Regions from separate parts of the Homo sapiens genome. Here regions 2, 3 and 4 are each linked to region 1. Evidence: promoter capture Hi-C in 16 types of primary human blood cells and fetal thymus (Javierre and others, 2016). All regions are on one chromosome and are shown on one strand. Each heading gives the region's core, a stretch centred on a gene start or on the middle of the fragment in contact. The rest is flanking DNA. Distances are from core to core; before and after follow the strand shown. Region 1 holds the start of AK4 (adenylate kinase 4). Region 2 overlaps PDE4B (phosphodiesterase 4B). Region 3 has its middle 84 kb from the start of PDE4B. Region 4 has its middle 110 kb from the start of PDE4B.

Region 1 (2,674 bases), core at 101-2,600:
CTAGTTGGGGTGGGAAATTAAAGGCTGTGTGTAAGGTGGGCACAGATCTAACAGAATGTGGATTGGGATATGCAGGGGAGGGTGGAGTGGGGGAAGACAGACTCCATTTGGACTTGGTGAGTTATAGGTGCAGCACCAGCATAATGCGCATGGAAGTCCTGGAATCATTTACCAAGAAGGTCCTGAACACAGGTGAGGGACATCCCCTTCTTCCCTGTTCCCTAAGGCGCCTAGACTTTGGAGTCAGTCAGTCTTGGGTTCCAGCCTCCCGCTAGGACGCAATTTCTTGAGAGCAGGATTCGATCTGTTGTTCACGGCTAGATCCTAAGCGCCTAGAATAGTTTCTGGCACACAGTAGGCACTCAATAAACATTTGCAGAATGAATCAATGAATGAATGGTCACGCTCCATTCCTCGGCTGTAAACACAATGAAATCACCTAGCCGCAAACTTGGCGCACAGTAGGCGCTCAACAAGTTGTATTTTTCCCTTCCCTTGCAGTAGACCGCGGTCCCCAGGCGACCGCGAAAGAAAAAAAGGGGTTTCTCTACCTCGCGTGGTCTGCACCTCGCTTCGCCCCCGCAGCCCTCGCTGGGTCGCAGGGAGCACGTGGGCCAGGCAGGCTGGGTGGGAGTGGAGTGGAGTGGAGGGGAGGGGGCGGCGGCCAGCGGCTCGCGCGGAGCCGGTCTCCCGGGCTTACGTAAGGCGCGAGTCCCGCGCGGCCGGCCGGGGCTCCGCGACTGGGCGGGCGGAGGCGGCGCCGCCCTGCAGGATCCGGGCTGGAAGCCTCTCGGAGTGCTGCCTCCAGCCAAGGTGTGTGTTTATTTGATTGCTTTTGGTGGCGAGGCGCGGGGCTCGGGCTCGTCGCGCGCCCCATGGCCGGGGAGCGCATCCGCCAACCCCGGGCGGAGGTGGGCCCCTCCGAGCGCGCGCGGGCGGCGGGCAGCGGCGGCAGCTGAGACTCCGGGGGATGTGACAGCCGCCGGGGAGGGGACGAGACGCAGACCACACGTTGCCCACGTGCGAGGACCGGGCAGGGGCTCAGCCCCTAGGCCGCCCGGTGCGTGGGGCGGCGGGGGCTGGCTTTGAGTCACCCCCGCTTGTGCCAGCTTCCCCGGCTCGGCGGAGACTGGCTTGGGGATGCCTGGCCGCCCGGCCCCCTTCTCGGACGCGGCGTGGGGAGCGAGCTGGAGTTAAGGATGAAGGTGGGACTGGCCGGGCCGACCTCTGACCCCTGGAGGCCGAGTCGGCAGGGCGGGGCACGGCGCGCTTCAGCAGCTTTGCGTGGGGGCGAGGAGGTGGAGGAGGGCGAGGAGGTGGAGAAGGGCGGGGAGGTGTAGCGTGGCGCTCAGTCCGCCTGCTACTCGGTCCCGGCGCTGGGCTGAGGGGAGGGGTTGTCTTAAAAGTCTCTCCTTCCCCCTGTAGGGGCGGCCGGCGAGTCCCAGTGAGAGCGGAGGGTGCCAGAGGTAGGGGGCCGAGAAACAAAGTTCCCGGGGCTTCCTCCGGGGCCGCGGTCGGGGCTGCGCGTTTGACCGCCCCCCTCCTCGCGAAGGCAATGGCTTCCAAACTCCTGCGCGCGGTCATCCTCGGGCCGCCCGGCTCGGGCAAGGGCACCGTGTGCCAGAGGATCGCCCAGAACTTTGGTCTCCAGCATCTCTCCAGCGGCCACTTCTTGCGGGAGAACATCAAGGCCAGCACCGGTGAGGGGCTGCGGGGACGAGGGCCGGGGGCGAGCCGCGTTGGGCTGGGGTGAGGCCCTGGAGGGACTGGGGCTCCCGGATCACGGCGCCCTTCCCCCGCCCGCGTGTGGTCGTGCAGGCTCGTACGTGCCGGGGCGCATGCAGCTGGCGGCCGCGCGGCTTAACCGCGCCTGGGGAGGAGGCCGAGGCTCCAGGGGCGGCCGGTGGGAGGTGCCCACGGCTCCTCTCCACCGCTCCTCCTGTCGCGAGGAATAGCCCGAGCCACCCGGCCGAGGGAACGAGAACTAGGCAGGGAAAACCCGGAGCTTCCGTCTCACGCTGCCCTCCTTAAGGCAGAGCCGTCCCCGTACCCCTTAGCCCTGGCCCCCTCCCCCGAGTCCCTAGAGAGCCGCGCGCCCCCTCCCGCGGGAGCCCAGAGGCGGAGCGCCGCCCACCTGTGGCAGTCGGGCGGGGCCGCGCGCCGGGGAACCTGTGGCGCCGGGGGGCTCGCAGCCTCGCGCCTCTCCAGCCCCTCCACGCAGCCTCGGGCCTCGGGGCAGAGCCCTGGGTGGCTTTGAAAGGCCTGTCTGTTCGTTGTCGCCTTCTAAGGTAAACTCTCCCCAGCAACTCCCCCCCCTCCCGAAGCCGCCGGGCCTGGCCGTCAGGAGACTCGGAGGAGACTCGTTCTGATAAATTACATTTTGTAATGCAGCTTTCCTGGAAATGGCTTCTTGAGCTGCCTCCCTTGGCATGAGATGCCTCCTTTGGCTGGCGTGGTGAACTTGGGGATATATAGATCGCCTGATTTCTTAGTCTGACGGGGTTGAGTGCGTCCCTTTCCCCCTCTCCTCCCACTCCACGTTCACACCAGTTCCGAAAGAATTGGCGTTAAAAGGCGAGAGGTAGCGGTTGTGCTGCTGCGAGGCTCTTAACCCTTCTGGGATGGAGATGCTGGTAATTAGCAACTCCTTTATGAAAAGTTGTTCTTCCCAGCA
Region 2 (2,674 bases), core at 49-2,548, 670 kb after region 1:
GCTTCCTTCCCCGAGGTCTGACCTTTTGCCTCATTTCCTCTGACTCAATTTTGGGTTCTGTTCTTGGCTTTCAGTTTCTGCTCTGAGAGTTCCTTTTCTAAATTTCTGGGTCCTCTTGTAGGTTAGTTACTCACTTGTTTCAGTTTCTCTGCTGGTCTCCTTCTTAGGGTATGGCCCTCCATGCTCTGCCACACCTGGGTTGCATCAGCTGCTCAAAGGCAGCATTTCTCACCTGCTGCTGCTCTCCCTGATCCAGGGCCAACTTGGACAAATCCCTTCCAAATGTAATTGGCCATAATCATGTAGGTTTTAACTATAGGTTGGTGGCATTAAATTTCCAAGACAGTAAAATGTCAGGGTGGAAATTCATTGTTTTTAGATACTGGAGGGACTTTCTGTGTTTTAAATGCCTCTCAATTATTTTTTTCATCCATTGGCACACTTTGGAATGTTAATATTTGTAGTAAATACTGAACTACATAGATAATGCTGTTTGTGGTTCTAGGAATTACATGCCTATCCTAGGGACTGAGGGGACGACTGTCTCAGCCTCCTATATGATATTATGTATAGAAATGCACTGGTTGAGAAGCTCTATTCTAAAGTCTCCATGAAAACACAAATAGATAGCACTGGGCAGGGGTTGGGAGAGAGTATAACACCTTAAACAATTATTCTCTAGCTTCTTTATTTCTATTTGCCTGTCAACTGCTTTCTAAGGGTCCTAGACAGCCCTGGAAAAGTTGCCCCAGGAATACAAAACCTTAAGAATGAAGATAAGGACACTAAAGTTTCTGTAGGGGCTGGAGAGGGAATACCTAAATCTATTCTAAGACATGTTGGGAGATACTAAAACTGGAACGAGATTGGGAACAGGCAGAGAGTTAGGAGGCTACCGAGGGAGTTCAGGAATGAGGTATTGAGGGTTTGGTTTATTAGCTGCTCACCTGTAGAGGAGTGAGTCACTTATTTAAATTCATACAGAAAATATGTAAGCATATATGGTGGGTTGGTTGTTAATACTTTGTCAAATGCATGCCACTTAACTAATCGTGGGAGGTCACTATAATTACCATTTAGATGTGAGAGGTATACGGAGGGAGAAAGAAGTCAACAGTAATATGCAAGTTACTATTTTAATTAATTGGGGGAATTGAATTGCCATTCACTAAAGAAAGACTAAGAAAAAGATACAGTTTTGCTGGGGGAAATGGCATGTTGAGTTTTGAACGTGCAAGTTTGAGATATTTTTGCCATATAAAATAATACCTATCTGAAAAGTATTTGGAAGGTGGTCTGGAACTCTCAGGAAAAAGCCAGATCAGAGTAAACAGATTTTAGAAGTGAACAATATAGAGATCTATACATTTTCATTGTGGGCCCTGGAAATCATATTCAAAATAGTATGAAAAATGTGTGCCAGTGTAGTTTTTCTGAGGAGGGGGTCCTCTATAGTTTCAAAGAATCACTGCTACAGATAGATGAGATAGGTAAATTAAGACCTTAATGGCAAATGGGTAGAAATTATGATTTTTAAAGTAAAAGAGGAAAATGAATCAAGGATAACTTCAGGGTATTTTTTTCTTTGGCAGCAGTGCAAGAGTAGGAGAAGAAATTGGTTTGTGAAGCTATGGGGTTAGAAATACTGAATTTGAATTAGAATGTAGCTTTGAAAAATAATGTGTCCAATAGGCAGTAGGCACTGCGGCAAAAAAAAAAAAAAAAAAAACAACAGTTGAGAGATCTGGAATATAGATTTGTTTGTCTTCAGTGTTATGCTGATAATAGAAGCCCTGAGTGTATGTGAGCTTTAAGCCAATTATTAGACTAAAAAGAGAACAGTGAAGAAGTCCAAGTTTTGAGCTTTGGGTATTACCCAGAGTCGAGAGCCAGGTGAACAGAAGGGCTGGGGCACTCTGGGCACTTGACAGAAAATTCAGTCGTGAATTGACTACAGCACATTGCTTGCCAAAGCCTTGCCCGAGGCAGCTGCTGGTTGATGGAAACAGCTCAGGGTGTGTGTCAGCACTCTTCCTCTAGCTGGCTGGACTGGTAGTCTTCAAATCCTTTTGCTCCCTCATCCTTATAACAATATTTAAGTCACATCATCTTATTATATGTACATATGTTTAGATGCTGTAGAGAATATGTGAAAACAGAAATTTATGAAGATGAAATACATTGATAAAAGATGAATGTAATATATATATTCTTATAACCAATGGATTATTTTGTGCACCTTCTGTAATGCTTTTTTTTAAAAGAAACTTTATTGAGATACTGCTTAAGTACAATAAGTTAAACTCATTTAAAAGGCTACAATTTAGTGACTATTGACAAATGTGTTCAATTATGAAAACACCACAATCAAGATATTTCCATTACTCTCGAAAGTTTCCTGGTGCCTCCTTGCTGTCCATTCCTCTCTCTAACCCATCCTTTGGCAAACACTGATCTGCTTTCTTTCACTGTGAATTAGTTTTAGTTGTTATAATTTTATATAAATAGAATCATATAGTATCTGCTTTTTTTTGTTTCTGTCACTCAAAGGATGCTTTTTTTCTTATTGCTGTATGGGATATAGCAAAATGTCTTTATACATTTACCTGTTGATTGTCATTTAGGTTGTTCCCAGGTGTAAACTATTACAAAAATACCAGCTACAAATTTTTTT
Region 3 (2,674 bases), core at 45-2,544, 560 kb after region 1:
TAAAATAAGATAAATAATAATTCATAACATTATTACAGGGATCAATGAATTCATTTAAAAATTAAAATAGTGCCTGGCACAGGGGAAGTGCTCAACTAATGTTAGTTATTGTTAAAATCGGCCAAATGGAGATACTGGCAATTACTTCAATTATCTTTCTCATGAGAATTCTATAAGGTAATAACCTACAATGAAATCAACTGGTATATAAAAGATGCTTGGTAATTGTTGGTTTTCTCTCTACCCCAGTAAATATTAGATCCCAGGTAGCAATAGAAAATATGGAAAATGCAAGGCATATTTCACCAGCTTTAGATCAAGCCTATGTTCACAATTCACTCAAAACCTATCTTGAATCAAGTTTGAATCACTAGCAGAAAAATAATTGTCTTTTCCCATGAAATCTCCTTAAATTCACATGTTATCACCACAGATGATTATTATGGTCCTACATATGCAACATTTATGCAAAAAAGTATGAAATTGTCTCTCATTAATTGCAAGAAGCTTACAGCTTAATTTTGGAAACATGATCTTTGCTCCCTAGGTTAGTTATCACTGGAAGGTAAGGACCCCCAAGCAATTAATGAGATTGCTTATACTATGTGCCAAGGAGTGAGGATAGAATGTTCATGATTCCTAATGCCCGCAAGCACTTTTTCCTCTAAAATGGCCATGAGGAGTTTCAGTTATTTCACTACATAATTTTCAATGAATGCATCCAACTTTGGAGCTTGATGGAATCAGACTGCTAAATATCTAATCCTAACTTGGGTATTTACTAGCTCTGTGACCTTTGTCAAATTAGTTAAACTCTTTGTACCTCAGCAACCTCATAGGTCCTCAAAATGGAGTTAAAAATAATATCTGCCTCCCAGGAGTGTGGTGAGGATTAAAAGAGTTAGCACTGACAAAGCATTTAGAAGACTGCTTGGTACTTAGGAAGCTAGCTATCAGTAAGTCTGCCATTGTCCACTGGAATACTTTTTTTTTTTTTTTTTCCAGGGAGAAAATATTTTCCTTTTCCTGGATAAAACTGTGTCTGCCAGGCCTCCATAGACAGGTCTGTCTCTTTAAGTTTCAAAATCAGTCTGGATTCACATATTAAAGATGTCCAGTTCAAGATACCATTTTCCCTTATATATTAGGTTGGTGCAAACGCAATTGCGGTTTTTGCCATTAAAATTGCTTTTGCACAAACCTAATACATATTAAAAGGTAGGACTACCTCTAGTTGCTGAACCTGCATCCTCCAGGGAAGGACATGCATTTCTGCTCTGTTCATTCTCCTTCCCGACAAGCTAGCTGCCATTTCTGACCTTTACCAGATAGCATCATGATCTGGGTGTTTCAAGAGGACTTGCTTTTATGGCTACTTTTGTGGTATTTCAATGCAGCTTCCTTGATGTTGGGAATGGACTCACCACCCCGCCTTTGACTCACAACCCGGCCCCATCCCACCTTGCTATCTATCCCCAGCCCCTGGTTTTCCAGTTATCTCTACAGCCGATTCTTCACCCTCTCAAATACTTCTCTTTTTTTTTTTTTTTTTTTTTTTTTTGAGACGGAGTCCCGCTCTTTAGCCCGGGCCGGATTGCAGTGGCACAATCTCGGCTCACTGCAAGCTCCGCCTCCCAGGTTCACGCCATTCTCCTGCCTCAGCCTCCCGAGTAGCTGGGACTACAGGTGCCCGCCACCGCGCCCGGCTAATTTTTTGTATTTTTAGTAGAGACCGGGTTTCACCGTGTTAGCCAAGATGGTCTCGATCTCCTGACCTTGTGATCCGCCTGCCTCGGCCTCCCAAAGTGCTGGGATTACAGGCGTCAAATACTTCTCTTGATCGGACTTAACATGAGTCCAATCTGCCCTTCTCTTTTGTGTGGCTCATAGCAAGACCACAGGGAATAGGTACTCGTCCCTTGCCCTGACAAACTCTGGGAGTGCTGGCCCATTGCAATGTGGCAGTTTTTATTCTTCACCCAAAGGCTGCTTTATCTTTCTTGCTTGAGGGTCAGGGCAAGTGTCTTCCAGCTTTAAAGCACAATGTAAAGCTCTCCTCGAGGCCAGTGAATGCCCCATCAGTAAGCTTTAAGGTGACCGAGATAAACTTTCCCCTCATTTTGGATGGGATAGGATGGAGTCTCACAGCAAAGTCATGCTTTCTCCGAAGAAATCTCTTTCCAAATCCTCTCTCTCTATATCCACTCTCTCAACCCTATTTTAGGCTTTACGTGTAGTTTGATATCTGCTATGTACCACATTCATCAAAACTGAGATAGAAAAGTTATCTTTTTAACATTCTGTTGTTATTATTTTTTTAAACCACAACTGGGACCAGGAAAGTCCACAGAATGTTCTTTTTTCTTACATTATCAAGGAGCTGAGGATTCAGCTGAAGAAAATTTTCTGTCAATCTCTATTTTGAAGAACACTGGAGAAGGATCACCTGTATAGAAGTAATTAGAAGTCAAAAAATAGCTGGGTCAAATCTCAGTCAGAAGATGATAGAAATCCCAAGTCTTAAACTGGCAGCTCAATTTAAGCCTATTTACGTTGTTGCATATTTTATTTAACCACTGAGAAAGGATGCCAATATTCAGCCTTAGGGACTTAGTTAAAAGCTTTTTAGATTGGTAGCTGCAGGATCTTGAAATGAATAACATTTTGAGGTTTA
Region 4 (2,674 bases), core at 111-2,610, 530 kb after region 1:
CATGGAAGTGGAGAGAGAAGGTATACTATGTGTCTAACTGGAACTCTAAAGAGAGATAATGAAGAAGATGAGGGAAAGATAGTAGGCAAAGAGTCTTCTGAGAGACAATGTTTCAGAATTGATGAAAAATATTAACCTAAAGACCCAGCAATCATAAGCCCAGGTTGTGAATAAAACTAAATCCACACCTAGACAGATGATGAAACTTCCAAACTACAACCATAAAGAAAAGATATTTTTCAAAAGCAGAGAAAAAAGACAACTTACAAAGGAAGAAAAAATAAACTCTAAGTAGGCTTCTCAAAAGCAAGAATAGAAACTAGAAGGCAATAGAACAATATCTGTAAAATAGTGAGATAAACTAACAATGCACCTGAATCCACCACTGATAGAACCTTGTTGAAAGAACCAACAAATGATTTAGTCAAGAAAGAAATGGAGCCTAGAAGCACAGAGTGAGGTACAGGATGTATTCTTAAGCAAATAAATTAGTCAGCAGGTGGGTAACCTGGGCATATTAAACAATAATAAAAATGTTGACAAACTCACAAGAAGACATTTCTCTATATGTTAAAGTATAACTGTCTGAGTCCATTTTGTGCTGCTGTAACAGAATATCTCGGACTGGGTAATTTATGTCACAAACTGGCTCATGGTTCCAGAGGCTGAGAGTCCAAGATTGAGGGCCTGGCATCTGGTGAGAGCCTTCTTGCTGCATCATAACATGGTGGAGGGCATCACATAGGAGAAAGAGAGAGAGCAAGTGAGGGCCAAACTCATCCTCTTATAAGGAACTTACTCCTGGGATAATGGTATGAATCTCTTAATGAGGGCAGAGCCCTCATGGCCTAACACTTCTTAAAGATTTCACCTCTTAACACTGTGGTATTGGGGGTTGACTTTCCAACACATGATTTTTGGGAGACACATTCAAACCATACCAATAACCTTGCACTGTTTTATTGAAATGGGCACTACAATATAAATCTTAAGCCTTACCACAATTATACAACCTTTCCCTTGAACAAACACAGATGGTGGGTATCTCTAATAATCCTCAGATTGTTGCCATGTCCCAGCCCATGACTGGGCTCAATCTCAGACTTTCAACCAAGAAACATACTTTCATCTTTTATAATATCATATCTGATTACATGATAGGGAAAACAAGATTGCCAGATTATTTAAACATAGATATCTGTGGTTACGGCTAATTGATCACAGTCTCCAAAAATTAAGTAGATAGGTGTGGCTTGACATATATAGGAAGAAATATTTTTAGTTTACTGAGTAGACAGGCATCTAATATGAGGATCCGTGGAAGAAATTCACAGCTTCTTTTTTTTCTTTTTAAAAATTTCAATACTTTTGGGGGTACAGGTGTTTTTTGGTGACATGGATAAATTGCATAAGGGTGAAGTCTGAGATTTTAGTGCACTCATCACCCAAATTGGTACATTGTACCCAATATGTAGTTTTCTTTATCCCTCATCTTCTTCCCATCCTCTCCTATTCTGAGTCTCCAAAGTCCATTGTACCACTCTGCATGCACTTGTGCACCCATAGCTTAGCTCCCATTCGTAAGTGACAATATATAGTATTTGGTTTTCCATTCCTGAGTTACTTCATGTAGAATAATGGCCTCCAGCTCCATCCAAGTTGCTGCTAAAGGCATTATTTTATTCTTTTTTAATGGTTGAGTAGTATTCCATGGTGTATTTATACCACAGTTTCTTTATCCACTCATCAGTTGATGAGCACTTATGCTGGTTCTATATCTATGCAGTTGGGAATTGCGCTGTGATAAACATACATATGCAGGTGTCTTTTTGATAGGAATTGCACTGAATCTGTAGATTGCTTTGAGCAGTATCGTCATTTTCATGATATTGATTCTTCCAATCCATGAGCATGGGATGTTTTTCTGTTTGTTTGTGTCATCTATGATTTCTTTCAGCAGTATTTTGTAGTTCTCCTTGTAGAGATTTTTAATCTCTTTGGTTAAGTATATTCCTAGATATTTTATTTTTTTTGCGGCTATTGTAAAAGAAATTGAGTTCTTGATGTGAGTCTCAGCTTGGACATTCTTAGTGTATAGCAGTGCTACTGATTTGTGTGCATTGATTTTATAATCTGAGACTTTACTGAATTCATTGATCAAATCTAGGAGTCTTTTGGAGGAGTTTTCTAGGTGTACAATCAAATCATTGGCAAACAGAGATCCTTTGACTTCTTCTTTTCCAATTTGGATGCCCCTTATTTCTTTCTCTTGCCTGATTGCTCTGCATAATCTCTTCCAGAGTAAAAACAGAGAATACACTTTTCAATTCATTTTATTAGTATTGGATGTCTCAATACCAAGACTAGACAAAGATATTATAAGAAAGAAAACTGCAGATATAAACAGTTGAAGATAAAAATCTTCAAGAAAACATTAACAAATCAAATCCAGCAAAACATAAAAAGGATAATATATCCCAACCAAGTGGGGTTTATTGCAGGAATATATGACTGGTTCAACATCATAAATCAAGCAATGGACTGCGTGCAGTGGCTCACGCCTGTAATCCCAGTAAGTGGTGCTGAAAAATTGGGCATACATGTGAAAACAAAAAAGAGTCTTAGTCTGCACCTTACGCTGCATAAAAATGTGAATCAAAAATGATTAATAGAC

What was found. The method cuts DNA at HindIII sites, captures the fragments that hold promoters and counts their contacts. A CHiCAGO score of 5 or more calls a contact.
Region 2: a fragment that was not itself captured here is called in contact with the fragment with the promoter of AK4 in region 1 in 1 of 17 cell types (monocytes); the score reaches 5.3 in monocytes.
Region 3: a fragment that was not itself captured here is called in contact with the fragment with the promoter of AK4 in region 1 in 1 of 17 cell types (erythroblasts); the score reaches 5.1 in erythroblasts.
Region 4: a contact is called between a fragment that was not itself captured here and the fragment with the promoter of AK4 in region 1, in 3 of 17 cell types (erythroblasts, monocytes and megakaryocytes). The highest score is 6.4, in erythroblasts.

The regions. Positions count from the first base shown.
Region 1 is chr1:65,146,853-65,149,526 of GRCh38, forward strand. AK4 (adenylate kinase 4) reads left to right here and starts at 1,351. Exons shown (of 5, transcript NM_013410.4): 1 at 1,351-1,700. The coding sequence starts at 1,556. RefSeq lists silencers at 518-757, 768-1,267, 1,648-1,947, 2,008-2,287 and enhancers at 1,881-2,599, 2,600-2,674. The HindIII fragment of the contact is 4,960 bases long and covers 1-2,674 here.
Region 2 is chr1:65,812,185-65,814,858 of GRCh38, forward strand. The region is part of intron 1 of PDE4B (phosphodiesterase 4B); the gene reads left to right. Among named protein-coding and RNA genes, the nearest start is that of PDE4B, 21 kb to the left of the region's middle. RefSeq lists an enhancer at 1-217. The HindIII fragment of the contact is 2,879 bases long and covers 1-2,674 here.
Region 3 is chr1:65,707,142-65,709,815 of GRCh38, forward strand. No RefSeq gene overlaps it. Among named protein-coding and RNA genes, the nearest start is that of PDE4B, 84 kb to the right of the region's middle. The HindIII fragment of the contact is 1,579 bases long and covers 506-2,084 here.
Region 4 is chr1:65,677,434-65,680,107 of GRCh38, forward strand. No RefSeq gene overlaps it. Among named protein-coding and RNA genes, the nearest start is that of PDE4B, 110 kb to the right of the region's middle. The HindIII fragment of the contact is 2,836 bases long and covers 1-2,674 here.